2 separate regions of the Homo sapiens genome follow, and region 1 is linked to region 2. Evidence: promoter capture Hi-C in 16 types of primary human blood cells and fetal thymus (Javierre and others, 2016). All regions are on one chromosome and are shown on one strand. Each heading gives the region's core, a stretch centred on a gene start or on the middle of the fragment in contact. The rest is flanking DNA. Distances are from core to core; before and after follow the strand shown. Region 1 overlaps DNAJC27 (DnaJ heat shock protein family (Hsp40) member C27). Region 2 holds the start of LINC01381 (long intergenic non-protein coding RNA 1381).

The links. Contacts are between HindIII fragments. The CHiCAGO score rates a contact against its expected background, and 5 or more counts as called.
Region 1: a fragment that was not itself captured here is called in contact with the fragment with the promoter of LINC01381 in region 2 in 2 of 17 cell types (M0 macrophages and M1 macrophages); the score reaches 5.3 in M0 macrophages.

The regions. Positions count from the first base shown.
Region 1 is chr2:24,944,653-24,947,352 of GRCh38, reverse strand. It overlaps DNAJC27 (DnaJ heat shock protein family (Hsp40) member C27), which reads left to right. Exons shown (of 7, transcript NM_016544.3): 7 at 1-2,700. Among named protein-coding and RNA genes, the nearest start is that of ADCY3, 26 kb to the right of the region's middle. The HindIII fragment of the contact is 1,384 bases long and covers 749-2,132 here.
Region 2 is chr2:25,203,015-25,205,724 of GRCh38, reverse strand. LINC01381 (long intergenic non-protein coding RNA 1381) reads right to left here and starts at 1,412. Exons shown (of 2, transcript NR_132378.1): 1 at 1,176-1,412. RefSeq lists a silencer at 1,075-1,414. The HindIII fragment of the contact is 10,460 bases long and covers 1-2,710 here.

The DNA.
Region 1 (2,700 bases), core at 191-2,690, 260 kb after region 2:
AGCTCTGTAATTATAGTATCACTTAGACATTTCACTTGGGGAAATCCACAAGGTTCCTGGAGGAGGGAAGAGAGGACAAGAGGACCCTTTCACTTTTTCTTTTTTACGGAATTCATCATCAGAGAAGAAAATAACAAAAATGGAAGCAAACAACATCAGAACCCCTGTAAGTTTGGTGTGACCTTACAGACAAGTTGCTGCTTTTACAATGAGTTCCTTAGGTGGTATTTTAACCCATCGATCTATAATGATGACTCTTGGCAGCCCTTTGGGAGTTTGTAAAATGAGGTGATACAGTTCTGAATTGAGCATTCCTTTATGATATTCACTCTGTTCCTCTTCTGCAGCCACCAGTGGGAGAGACAAGCCAGTCCTAAGAGAAAAGGTGGTGGCAGCCACAAATTCTAGGTACACTGGCTGCTGCCTATCCTGTCCCTGGATCTGAGGCCTTTCCCTTGCCATAGAAATGGTTGCTGGTAGCAGTAGAGAGCACTGTGCACCTGGGAATGAGGAATCAGGCCCCAAGACAGAAGTACTTGGAGGAGCCAGCTGCAGTAGTATCCGCCTGTAGTCCCAGCTACTCAGGAGGCTGAGACAGGAGGATTGCTTAAGCCCAGGAGCTCAAGTCCCACCTGGGCAACATAGTAAGATCTTGTCTCTTAAAGAAAAAAAAAAAAGGTACTTAGAGGTCGCACTTAAAGATTATGCACATCAGCAGAGGAAAGGCCAGCCAAGCTTGGGGCAAGCTTGATGCAGTAGGAGAGACTCCTTATGAGGCTTAGCCCTTGTCTTACTGCCAGCCTTTGCCACAGGCAGGTGAGAAAGGCAGGGCCACTCCTCAGCAAAGTTGGCCTCTTCTACACTTCCTCACCAGTGTTGTTTCTTCCTTTTTTCCCCTCTTCCCCTTCCCGTCTTGTGTTTTTTCTGAACCCCACATCTGCCATCATTTCTCTCCTCTAGAGTCCCTGGCTTCTGGCCACTGCCTCCTCCCTCTTCTAAGCCTTGGCCTGAATCTGGTTGATCAGAGGCAAGTGTGGATCCTTTGGGTGGCAGTCAGGGGAGATCTCAGGGCCTCTGTTGGGAGGAATCTCTGTAATTCCTGCTTGGGCTCCAAATTTCTGAAGAGTAATATTTTTAAACTATAGCTTACAAAATACATTCTCTGACCACAGTCTCCTCCTTGATATACAAGGGATGGATGAAGTTCATGTATTAGGACTGGCACTCCTTACGGTGCTTATAGAACTAGTCTCACCACTTGACTCATTACGTCGTCATTCTTGTTACATCACTCATACTTTTAGCTGCAACCACACTAATTCACATTTTTATATACTTTCAATTAGCTGTACTAATTGGGGCTTGAAAGTATATAAAATCTTCCTGTCCTGTGAATTTTAAAAAGCTATCCCATATCGATTGCCAAAGAGCATCTACCTTACCTCCTAAGAAGAAAAGCCACTTTCTTCCAATCCAAGCCCACTGCAGCCTTGTGGATTTTCCACACAGCAGCTTTTCACTGTATGCCTGTACTTGGGCTGCACTGAGCTTGTCTTCAGGAAACCAGAGCGTTGCTTTATCATCGCACTTTTCATCTTGGTAATATCAAAACAACTTTTTAAATGAACTGATTGATATATGTTATTTCTTGCGAGGTTTTCCTCTGGCCTTTAACTGGCTTCTGAGGCTACAGAACTCCAACCCAGAGTTCTTCGGGACCTAAATTTTGCTTAAGGAAGGCCTTTATCATGCTGAAAGCACTCAGACATGTCTGTCCTCACAGCAGAATGTAGAAGTCATATGAATGAGGGATCGTGCACGGTAGCGTCAGCCCGAATTGACACGACAACTCTGAATGTGTGGCCCTCTATGAAAGCTGGTGCCAGTTTTCATCACTGTTATTAAATACTAGATTGGGAACCTCATTCAGCCGTATTGCACAGATGAGCAATTACAGCAGAGAAAATTCATTAGTGCTCCCACTCATATCCTTATGTGTGAGTTGGTGAAATTTAGCCTGAGCTTGATTCTTAGGTCTTGAGACTCAGTTTCCAACACCTTCATTATTAATGTTAAGAATGGCCATATACCACTTCATTTACGTAAAAGGAATAAAATAAGCAAGTTAAGCTTCAGGGTCCTAGAATTTTTCTGATTTCTATAATCCTTCAGCAGAATATTAAGAAATAAAGCATGATCTGCAATGGAAAGGTTTTTTTGGCACTAACTTCATGCAGAATTTCACAGACATCTATGCATTAATTTAAATTCTTGGTGCAAATGTGTGCTTTGTAGTTCAACCTTATTAAAAATTCTTCAGCCAGTTAGGATTTCAAAATACATTAGTGAGAGTAACAGCTAGCAGAATAATTACAATGGCTAAAACGTTTTTATAGAGAATCTTGTTTTTCAAAAAAGAATAAAAAGTTTGAATAGCTATTATTAAAGAAAAGCCATGTCTTCAACATCTGAGTCACCAAGAAGTAACACTTTTTAAACTTGTTAGAAATCCCTGGAGGCATTTCAAATTCATCTTCTAACCTACCTAAGCACTTTAAAATACAGCCTCCTTCTGTTCCTCTGTTCCCCTTCATGCCTCCTTTTGAATTGATATCTCAGCTGTCAATATTTCTTTGACTTCAGCATTGTTATTTTATTTCTCTATATCAATGTGTCCTTAGTTTTCTTAGCCTGTTAATT
Region 2 (2,710 bases), core at 163-2,662:
GTCAATATGCTGGTTGTGATATTGTACTATAGTTCTGCAAGATGTTACCATTGGGGAAAACTGGGTAGAGGTGGGATCTCTGTATCATTTCTTTTTTTTTTTTTTTTTCTTGAGACGGAGTCTCACTCTGTCACCAGGCTGGAGTGCCGCGGCCCGATCTTGGCTCACTGTAACTTCTGCCTCCCGGGTTCAAGCGATTCTCCTGCCTCAGCCTCTCGAGTAGCTGGGACTACAGGCACATGCCACATGCCCGGCTAATTGTTGTATTTTTAGTAAAGACGGAGTTTCACCATGTTGGCCAGGATGGTCTCAATCTCTTGACCTCATGATCTGCCCGCCTCGGCCTCTCAAAGTGTTGGGATTACAGGCGTGAGCCACCGCGCCCGGCCTATATTTTCTTATAACTGCATGTGAATCTGCAAGTATCTATATAACATTTTCGATTAAAAGAAAAAGCAATTCTGAAGGAGTTGAGATCCATGAGAATTTACCATTTCATGTTAAACCATTTTTCATTAAGATTACATTATAAACATTTCCCCGTGTTTCTACAGACCTTGCAATAATCACTTACTGGCTACACGGCATTCCATCTAGTGGGTGTAAAACCGTTCCCTTAACCATTCTCCCTTGCTAGGTGGCGAGGTTGTTTTCAATTTTTAGCTCACACTAATAATGCCATAATGAACATGATTATGCCTAGGGCACGGTTATTCCTTTGAATTATTTCATTAGGATACATTCCCAGGGAGTGGGGTGCCTGGGCATAAGGTTCTGGACCTTTATGACTGTATTAGGTATTATTAATTTAATATTATATCCTTATTATTGCCCTTTCTAAGGTACAGATCGGCTTTTCCCCAAGTGAGCAAAAGTTCTCTGGCGCGCCTTTCAGCATTCAGATTTGTGGGGGAAAACCTAGGGGCCCCCCACTTGTTTCCGCCTGCACAGTGTCAGGCCAGAGATTTGAGTGGCAGAATGACAGAGGCAGCAGAGTGCAGCTAGAGGAGCTGTCACGGGCGTCACCCTCCCACGGGGCCCGGGCGGGCGTCCGGGGACCTCCTGGGACTCGGTGGCGCCGGCTACCTTCTCCCCAGAGCAGCAGAGGCCGTGAGGGGCCCTGCGGGGCCATGAGGGCGCGCGGCTTTCTTGAAAACAGAGCAGCCTCTGCTCACCCTGCAGGCGCTCTGGAGCTGCAGGAGGCCATTTCTAGAAGGCACCGGATTCGGCCTAATGCGGTGGCGAGGCCGCTGCGTCCCTCGGAGCCCGGTGGGGAGGCCCTGGGTGCCGCGCCCCAAGGCTCGCGGGCGATTGCCGCCCGTGAGGCGCCGCCGGGGAAGTCCGGAGCCCTGGCGTCCCCAAAGCCGTCCGCGGCTCTGCGTCCCAGTCCCGGGCGAGCGCCGCGCAGAGGCCCGAGGACCCCACGCCTGGGTGGGGAAGGCGCGGCCTCGCCATCTTGCTGGGCCACGGGCGCTCGGCGCAGGCGTGCGCGCTTGTGCAGTGTTCACCTCTTTTGGGATTTTATTCTCGTTTCATTTAATTTAACTCATTTAAAAAATTTTTTTTATTTTACTTTTTCTTTCATTTTAGTTTTGTTTTAAATTTTATTAATTTCATTAAATTTAAATTTTGTTAATTTAATTTTAATTTTAGGTGGTTTTTTTTTTCAGTTTGGATTGCCAGGTTAAATGTAGGAGGTCCAGTTAAATTCAAATTTCAGATAAGCAACAGATACATTTTTAGTATACATCTATCCTGTTTAGGATGTCCTATTTAGTATCAGAATGTCTCCAACGTTTTGTCCTGGTTTTTTGTTTGTTTGTTTGTTTGTTTTTTGCGACAAGGACTTGCTTTGTTGCCCAGGCTGGGGTGCAGTGGCACAATCATAGTTCACTGCAGCCTCCAACTCCTGGACTCAAGAGATCTTCCTGCCTCAGCCTCCAGAATAGATGTACACCACTACACTCAGCTAATGTTTGTATTTTTTGTAGAGCTGGGGGGCGTCTCGCTATTTTGCCCAAGCTGGTCTCGAACTCCTGGGCTCAAGTGATTCTCCTGCCTTGGTCTCCCAAAGTGCTGGGATTCCAGGCATGAGCCACCACTCCTGGCCTGGCCTGTATTTTTATTTGCTAAATCTGGCAACTCAATTTGTGGTAGAACCCCTTCTTTGGAGGACATCTGACTCAGAACCCTAATACCTACCCAATGACAGCGAGTGGTCTGTGTGAACTGGGGCCAGGACTAGGGGGTGCAGGAATGTGAGTGTCACCCAGTGTCTCCCAGACTGGCCTGAGGAACCCCCTGAGCAGAACCGAACCACTGAACCTCTCTTACAGGGGCTGAACTCCCCGAGGGCAAGACAGCAACAGCCGCACCAGGTAGACTCTGTACATTGGATTATTCCAGCCATGGCTGGCTCCTGTCCTCTCAAAAGTCCCTCACGGGCCGGGCACAGTGGCTCACGCCTGTACTTCCAGCACTTTGAGAGGCCTCACTTGAGGCCAGGAGTTCAAGACCAGCCTGCCCAACATGGCAAAACCCTGGCTAATACAAAAAATTAGCCAGGCATGGTGGCACACACCTGTAATCCCACCTACTTGGAGAGGCTGAGGCACAAGAATAGCTTGAACCTGGGAGGTGGAGGTTGCAGTGAACCAAGATCGTGCCACTGCACTCCAGCCTGGGCAACAGAGCGAGACTCTGTCTCAAA